2 separate regions of the Homo sapiens genome follow, and region 2 is linked to region 1. The links are contacts of gene promoters, found by promoter capture Hi-C in blood cells and fetal thymus (Javierre and others, 2016). All regions are on one chromosome and are shown on one strand. The core of a region is centred on a gene start or on the middle of the fragment in contact, and the rest is flanking DNA. Distances in the headings are between cores, read along the strand shown.

Region 1 (4,362 bases), core at 1,309-3,808:
TTTTCACAGTTAACATTACTCATCACAGCTGAAGACTGAATAACAATAGATGGGAAGTGGTTTCCACATTTTTCCATAGAACGTAACCCCAGTTGACTTGTATGAAGGAAAAATTAAATGAATTTATGGCAGTCATTAGAGGTGGGCTAGGTACTATAGAACATATTGAACCTGACAGTCCTTTTCTAGTGTATTGTGTTTGTTAATATTTGTTAATATAATTTGTTCAAAGAATTTAGAAATGCAATCTGACAGAAATGAAATTAAGAAAACGCAACTTTTTGGCCAGTTGTAGTGGCTCACGCCTGTAATCCCAACACATTAGGAGACTAGGGCAAGAGGATTGCTTGAGGCCAGGAGTTTGAGACCAGACAGGGTAACAGAGTGAGACCCCCGTCTCTACAAACACTTTTTAAAAATATTAGCAGGGTGTGGTGGTGCACACCTATAGTTTCAGCATTCTATCAGGAAACTGAAGTGGATCACTTGGGCCCAAGAGGTCCAGGCTGCAGTGACCTATGAATGCACCACTGCATTCCAGCTTGGGTGACAGAGGACACCCTGTCAGAAAGAAAAGAAAAAAAGAAAAGGAAGGAAGGAAGGAAAGAAGGAAGGAAGGAAGGAAGGAAGGAAGGAAGGAAGGAAGGAAGGAAGGAAGGAAGGAAGGAAGGAAAGAAAGAAAGAAAGAAAGAAAGAAAGAAAGAAAGAAAGAAAGAAAGAAAAGAAAGGAAGGAAGGAAGGAAGGAAGGAAGGAAGGAAGACCCTAATTATTTGTTTACTCATAAATAAGCTTATTTTAAAGCATTCCAAATTTTTTAACTTTTATTTTAGGTTCAAGAGTACATGTGCAGGTTTGTTAAATTTTGTGTCACAGGGATTCGTTGTACAGATTATTTCATCACCCAGCTACAAAGCCTACTCCCCAATAGTTATTTTTCTGCTCCTCTCCCTCCCCGACGCTCCACCCCTCAAGTGGGCCCCAGTGCCTGTTTTTTCCCTATTTGTTTCCATGAGTTCTCATCATTTAGCTCCCACTAATGTGGTATTTGGGAAAATCCAACTTTTGAAAGATCTTTAGTCTGCTAATCATGAATGGCCAACATAATTACAGGCATGCCAACATTTGTAACATTGTGACACTTTCCCTGCCATTCTTAGTTAAAACTGATCTTTTGTTCCAAAAATTTTTGCTACCAACAATAGCCTGTCCTTTATAGTTCTTTTATACTTTTGTGTCTTCTCTCTAACTAAATAATCAACTCTTTCAGCATTCCATCCATTTCCCTTTCTCCTCCCTCTTACTCCCAACCCACATTCCCCTCTCCATTTTAATTTTAACCTGTGCCCCTTCAAGTGTACTCCAGCTTTTTTTTTAAAATAATTTCAAGTGATACTTTGACTTTTGACTGCATATGGAAGCATAAGTAACATGTCCTTTCATTTTTGGATAATGAGTTTCCTGATTAATTACAGCTCAAGAGTAAAATGACTGATTACTATTTAATTCATTTTGTGCTTCTTTACAATAAAGTAAAGACAGAAGCCCCAGATTCAGGAACAGACAAAATACTTTAATCGCTATCACATTTTTTTTAAGTCTAGTCAATTAGAAAAGTCAAATCTTTCCTCACAGCCAAGCACATTAAAAAAAAATCTTCTCTGGTAATAAACTTGAAGCTTTAAATAATTCTACAATTATAAACATTTTGTGTATTTTGCAAATATGGCATAACCTGTTGGCATAAAATTCCATTGTTCCAGAAAATATCGGTAATAAAATTATAGAAAAGTTAAAGATCTTCATTTCTTATTTCGAAGCGTTTGGGAGACATTTCAGAAACGGATGGGAAATGTTAAATTCTGCATGCCTGCTTAAGTTTCCATCCACACCGACTAGATGTAAACGAGTGTCACCAAAAGTACACCACAGGCACCCACACAGATTCCTTCCATAAGGGATCCACAAAGTTTAGATGTGAAATGTACCTAAAGGTTCCTAGCCGTCTTTCATCCCTCCCTCTGTGAAACAGGGAGACACATGTGTTTTAAGGCAGAGATGGAACTTGGGCGATGGGCGGGGGGTGGGGGAGGTGGGAAGGGACGGCTTAGGACAGGGCAGGATTGTGGATTGTTTCTGCCGCCTTGGTTGCCCATACTGGGCATCTCTGCAGGCGCGTCGGCTCCCTCCACCCCTGCTGAGATGATGCACTGCGAAAACATTCGCTCTCCCCGGGACGCCTCTCGGTGGTTCAGAGCAGGGAAAATGTTGCCTCAGGTTTAAAATAATCTGCCCAAGCACCCCAGCGCGGGAGAAACGTTCTCACTCGCTCTCTGCTCGCTGCGGGCGCTCCCCGCCCTCTGCTGCCAGAACCTTGGGGATGTGCCTAGACCCGGCGCAGCACACGTCCGGGCCAACCGCGAGCAGAACAAACCTTTGGCGGGCGGCCAGGAGGCTCCCTCCCAGCCACCGCCCCCCTCCAGCGCCTTTTTTTCCCCCCATACAATACAAGATCTTCCTTCCTCAGTTCCCTTAAAGCACAGCCCAGGGAAACCTCCTCACAGTTTTCATCCAGCCACGGGCCAGCATGTCTGGGGGCAAATACGTAGACTCGGAGGTAGGCATCCGTGGGGGGGCGCCGGCTCGGGCGTGCGGGGAGTGTCCGCTTCTGCTATCTGCCTCTCCAAATATCCCGACTGCTGCCCTGGCCCCAGCCCTCTCTCCACTTCGGAGCACTCCTCTGGCGTTGGCACCGCTGAGGAATGGGCCTGGGCGGGGAGGTGAAGAGAAGCCAGGAATGTTTTATGTTTTCCTAATGGAGAGGGGGCCTAGGGAGCCCCTGAGCTAGGAGGACACGGAAAAGGGGATTGGGGTCCTGAGATTGGGTCTGTTGGGCCCAGGACGCGTTTTCTGGATGGGTCTAGGATGCTCCCTTGTCGCGGGACCCCCGCGGTCCGGCCCTGCCTGCTGGGGGTTCGAAGAGGTGGAGTGCAGGGTGGAGGTGTTATTTACCCGAGTCCTGGGGACAGTCCCCGGGACTCTCCGCCAGGCGCCCAGACCGGCAGGTCCCGCAGGCGGCGCGCGGTGTGTTTGCACTTTCCAAAGTTCTTGAACCATCTCAAGAACTCCTTCTGCATCTTGGCGTCTGGCAGGGGTGTTCCGAGAGAGGTAGACCTCCCCTCCCCAAACTGCCACCATCACTTCCAACGCCCTCCACGCGCTGGAGCTCTGCCCGGGTGTGGAAACCTCGTCTTCCAACACGTAGCTGCCCTTCAGCCACCCGCCCGCAGCCTGGGAGTGCCCTGAGGGTGGGTCGGGGGAGCTGCGCAGGTGAGACTGAGTTCTAGGACATTTAGGGGGTCTGGTGCCTGGCTCCGCCAAAAATGGGGACTTTCGGGATTGTGATCATCACGGCGGATTGAGCAGGGAGAGCCGTGGAGGGACAAGAGAGGGCCGAGGCAGGGTGGGGGGCGCGGGCAGGTGCGAGGGGGATGCGGCCAAGAAGCAGCGATAAAGGGAACATTCCACGGGTCGGGCGGCTGCTGTTGGATCTTAGATAAAGCTGGAAGGGATTACCGGGGCAGGGGTAATAGGGACCGGGGACGGGAACGCGAAACAGGTGAAGCGCTCAGGGCGAGAGCGACTCGGCTTAGGGAGTCCGGGAGAAGCCTGCGGCTGCCCCCTCGCCGCCGAGGTCCTGCGGGTCCTGCGGGTCCTGCGTGCTGAGCCGGGGCGTGCGCGGGCGGGGGCCTTCGGACCGCGCGGCGGGGCCTGCCCTGACCCCTGGCGGCGGGCGGGGGAGGCAGGCGCGCCCTGCAGAGTACAGAGGGGTGTGGTGTCCTCTGCGAGATCCTCTTAAAAAGCTGGCTACGCGCAGGCGGTTTCTGTGCACGGAGCCGTAGCTGTCGGAGCGGTTAGTTCGATTTCGAGCTCGAGGTTTCCCCCGCCGCCAGGCTGACTTCTCATCGCTTGTTTTTCTTTTTGCATTTTTCCTCCCACCGCCGTTGCCGCCCTCCCCGTCCTGGCCGTCCGCCCTCCGCCCTCTGCAGGGACATCTCTACACCGTTCCCATCCGGGAACAGGGCAACATCTACAAGCCCAACAACAAGGCCATGGCAGACGAGCTGAGCGAGAAGCAAGTGTACGACGCGCACACCAAGGAGATCGACCTGGTCAACCGCGACCCTAAACACCTCAACGATGACGTGGTCAAGGTAAGCCAAGGCGACCAACAGGGAAGGGCTGGGACAGCTCTCCTCTGGCAGTTAGCCCGTGCATCCTTCTTTAGCATTGCCGTGTACGCACACCCCACCCCGCCCCCTACACGCGCACACACACACACACACAGAGTTTTGTGGGTTTGA
Region 2 (4,362 bases), core at 1,002-3,501, 120 kb before region 1:
ACCTCAATTTGAGAGGGCAGTTCAATAGTATTTAGACAAGAACAAAAGTACTGCCCAGTGTCAAATATAATTAAAATTAAATATTTATTTAATTTTTACTTATTAAAATTAAATATTTATTTAATTTTTACTTATTAAAATTAAAATTAATTTTATTAAAATTATTGTTATTTGTAATTATTTATAACGTATTTATAATTATTTATTAAAACTAAAATTAAATATTTATTCAAAAATAGGAATAAATATTCCTAGCTCATGATATATACTTTGGAAGGTTTGTGAGAAGACGCTGGATATTAAGAAAAACATTCAGAAGAAATACATTAAACCATTGGAGGCTAAGGAAAAGAACAGTGAAAGTTGCAGTCCATTTGAATACATTTTTAACAAATTGCTATCTATGTACTTGGAGTAGCCTGATCATAATATCATAAAAGTAACAATTGATATCACTATATCATTTATAGGATTTTAAAAATACATTACATATGCCAGACACTTTGTCAAGTATATTACATATGTACATATGTTACATATATAATATACATGATATATGCCAGACACTTTGTTAAGCATATTACATGTGTTAAGTATGTTATATGACCTTATGAAGTAGATTTTTTTATCTTTTAAAAATAAAAAGAAATAAACCTCATATAAGTTAGATTAATTGGGCTCAGTTAACTCAGTTAATAAATGACAAATATCCATATTCAAACCTACATCTATCAGGTTCCCTAGTGTGAAATCTTTCTACATATCATGCTTTCTCTTTTTTTTTTTTTTTTTTTTTTTTGAGATGGAGTCTCACTCTGTCGCCCAGGCTGGAGTGCAGTGGTGCCATCCCAGCTCACTGCAAGCTCCGCCTCCCAGGTTCATGCCATTCTCCTGCCTCAGCCTCCCGAGTAGCTGGGACTACAGGCGCCTGGCCACCATGCCTGGCTAAATTTTTGTATTTTTAGTAGAGACAGAGTTGCACTGCAGCCAAGATGGTCTCAATCTCCTGACCTCGTGATCCTCCCCTCTTGGTCTGCCAACGTACTGGGATTACAGGCATCAGCCACCGTGCCCAGCCATCATGCTTTCTTTACTAAGCACATAGAAGAAAAAGAAAAAAAAGGAAAACTTGGGAAAGCAGGAAGTATGACATTGCTGAGATGATAGCATGGCTGTGTGAATAACCATAAAACTTGTGACAAAAACATTGTTTGTAACAAACACTTTCCACTCGATACATCAAGAACATCTTTTCATTGTATTGAATGGTAAAAAAGTTTGATAACTACTATCAAGTTTTTTATTCTACTATATGAATATATGACTATTTTAAAATGTATTTCCAATTATAAGTTGAAGAAAGACTATTAAATGTTCAAAATCTTCCTTTTCTATTGTCTAAGCACAGAACTGGAGTGCAGGTCCCAGCTTCCCATACTGTGGAGTGGCCATGCGTTGTCTGGCCCGTGAAATGTGAGCAGAGGGATCTGTGTAACTTACAGGCTCAGCATGAAATATCACCCATGTGACCTCCATATACTTTCTCATGAAGGTCAGCCAAAGACAGAGGCTCTCTTGAAGAGGACTCCTGGGACTCCAGAAATGGAGGAGACATTAAATGGTAGGAGTTTGAGTCTCTGAATAATTATACGAATGCACACTCATCAGGAACATCCATTGTGGAACTTCTGTAAGCAAAAAATATACATTTCTGAATGTTGAGTCATAAAATTTCTGGATTACTTTTTTTTTTATTATACTTTAAGTTTTAGGGTACATGTGCACATTGTGCAGGTTAGTTACATATGTATACATGTGCCATGCTGGTTTTTTAATAAAGGCAAGTACTATTGTTATTTACTCTAAATAATACATGAGCAATGCTTCAGAGGTCCTCTTTGTAGCTAAGTCTTTCTGCAAATACCTAATTATTTACTTAGAAAATATTCTTGGAAGTAGAATTTCTGGTCAAAGGGTATGAACACTTAAAGTTTTTGAAATTGCCTTCCAGAAAGCTTCTGCATTATTTAAAAACCCTACCAGCAAGTCAATGAAAATTTCCAAAACAACTCGCTTCATTAGAATTTAACCATATTTTCTAACATAGATAATTTTGTAAGGAATTTGCTAGGCTCTTGTGTCAGCAATTTTACTAATTATTTATATGTCTTTAAGTCTATGTAACATACCCATCTTTCAATTTGTTTCAAAGATCAAATGTCATGGAATATTAACAGTACATATTTAAAATATTAAAAAATATAAGGTAATACAAAAATAAATTAGATACAAATCTAATTTCATGTATGTAAATGTAACAGTTATACATAGTAACAAATTTTATTCTGCCTTGAAAAGATTATCTGCTAAAACCTTGGCCATATGATCTTTAATTAGATTGTTACTTTGCTGGGTTATCATAGCAGCATTAGTTACTTAACAATACAGATGTTTCCTTTTTGTAGTTTTTATTGGCTCAAGATGAACACAAGCTTTAGTTCAAACAAAAGTGAGAGAGTGCAATTTAAATGAGGAGGTGATAGAATATGCACTAGAAGAGAAAAGGAGATAGATGTGTCGACTGTTTGTTTTGTTTTCTTTTGAAAATTGCTGCGTCTCCACTCCTGGTTTGACACTTGGAGTCCAGAAACTTTCCAACTGTGTTGAACAGAACTTCTGTCTCCCCTTGGGAGCAGCAGCAAGCCAGGGTAGACCACAAGTACCAATGAAAATACCTCATCCTATTTATACTGGGTCACATTTCCCCATTTTTGACAGATAGAACCTTTGGAGAAGAATATTAATGACCATTGGGAGATGACACTAGTCATTTAGGGAAACACTCAATAAATAGGCAAGTGATACTTCACACAGGGACTCCCTAGATTTGCAAAATGCTTATACCCCAGAGGAAGCTTTTCCTGGAGATGTGATAATTTCTTTTTTAGGATAATAAAGCTTAATTCTGTAGAACTACCAGACAAAGCAAGACAGTCCACTAGGGAGGAGCCAAGATGGCCGAATAGAAACAGCTCCGCTCTACAGCTCCCAGCGTGAGCGACGCAGAAGACGGGTGATTTCTGCATTTCCATCTGAGGTACCGGGTTCATCTCACTAGGGAGTGCCAGACAGTGGGCACAGGTCAGTGGGTGCGCGCACCGTGCGCCAGCCGAAGCAGGGCGAGGCATTGCCTCACTCAGGAAGCACAAGGGGTCAGGGAGTTCCCTTTCCTAGTCAAAGAAAGGGGTGACAGACGGCACCTGGAAAATCGGGTCACTACCACCCGAATACCGCACTTTTCCGACAAGCTTAAAAGACGGCGCACCAGGAGGTTATATCCCGCACATGGCTCGGAGGGTCCTACGCCCGTGGAGTCTCGCTGATTGCTAGCACAGCAGTCTGAGATCAAACTGCAAGGAGGCAGCAAGGCTGGGGGAGGGGCGCCCGCCATTGCCCAGGCTTGCTTAGGTAAACAAAGCAGCCGGGAAGCTAGAACTGGGTGGAGCCCACCACAGCTCAAGGAGGCCTGCCTGCCTCTGTAGGCTCCACCTCTGGGGGCAGGGCACAGACAAACAAAAAGACAGCAGTAACCTCTGCAGACTTAAATGTCCCTGTCTGACAGCTTTGAAGAGAGCAGTGGTTCTCCCAGCACGCAGCTGGAGATCTGAGAACGGGCAGACTGCCTCCTCAAGTGGGTCCCTGACCCCTGACCCATGAGCAGCCTAACTGGGAGGCACCCCCCAGCAGGGGCAGACTGACACCTCACACAGCCCAGTACTCCAACAGACCTGCAACTGAGGGTCCTGTCTGTTAGAAGGAAAACTAACAAACAGAAAGGACATCCACACCAAAAACCCATCTGTACATCACCATCATCAAAGACCAAAAGTAGATAAAACCACAAAGATGGGGAAAAACAGAGCAGAAAAACTGGAAACTCTAAAAAGCAGAGCGCCTCACCCCCTCCAAAGGAACGCAGTTCCTCACCAGCAATGGAACAAAGCTGGATGGAGAATGACTTTGACGAGCTGAGAGAAGAAGGCTTCAGACGATCAAATTACTCTGAGCTACGGGAGGACATTCAAACCAAAGGCAAAGAAGTTGAAAACTTTGAAAAAAGTTCAGAAGAATATATAACTAGAATAGCCAATACACAGAAGTGCTTAAAGGAGCTGATGGAGCTGAAAACCAAGGCTCCAGAACTACGTGAAGAATGCAGAAGCCTCAGGAGCCAATGCGATCAACTGGAAGAAAGGGCATCAGTGATGTAAGATGAAGTGAATGAAATGAAGCGAGAAGGGAAGTTTAGAGAAAAAAGAATAAAAAGAAATGAGCAAAGCCTCCAAGAAATATGGGACTATG

The links. Contacts are between HindIII fragments. The CHiCAGO score rates a contact against its expected background, and 5 or more counts as called.
Region 2: a fragment that was not itself captured here is called in contact with the fragment with the promoter of CAV1 in region 1 in 1 of 17 cell types (endothelial precursors); the score reaches 7.8 in endothelial precursors.

Annotation. Positions count from the first base shown.
Region 1 is chr7:116,522,478-116,526,839 of GRCh38, forward strand. It overlaps CAV1 (caveolin 1), which reads left to right and starts at 2,559. Exons shown (of 3, transcript NM_001753.5): 1 at 2,559-2,615; 2 at 4,048-4,212. The coding sequence starts at 2,586. RefSeq lists an enhancer at 272-912 and silencers at 838-1,132, 3,541-3,930, 4,161-4,260. The HindIII fragment of the contact is 5,040 bases long and covers 1,676-4,362 here.
Region 2 is chr7:116,405,860-116,410,221 of GRCh38, forward strand. No RefSeq gene overlaps it. Among named protein-coding and RNA genes, the nearest start is that of CAV2-DT, 91 kb to the right of the region's middle. The HindIII fragment of the contact is 477 bases long and covers 2,014-2,490 here.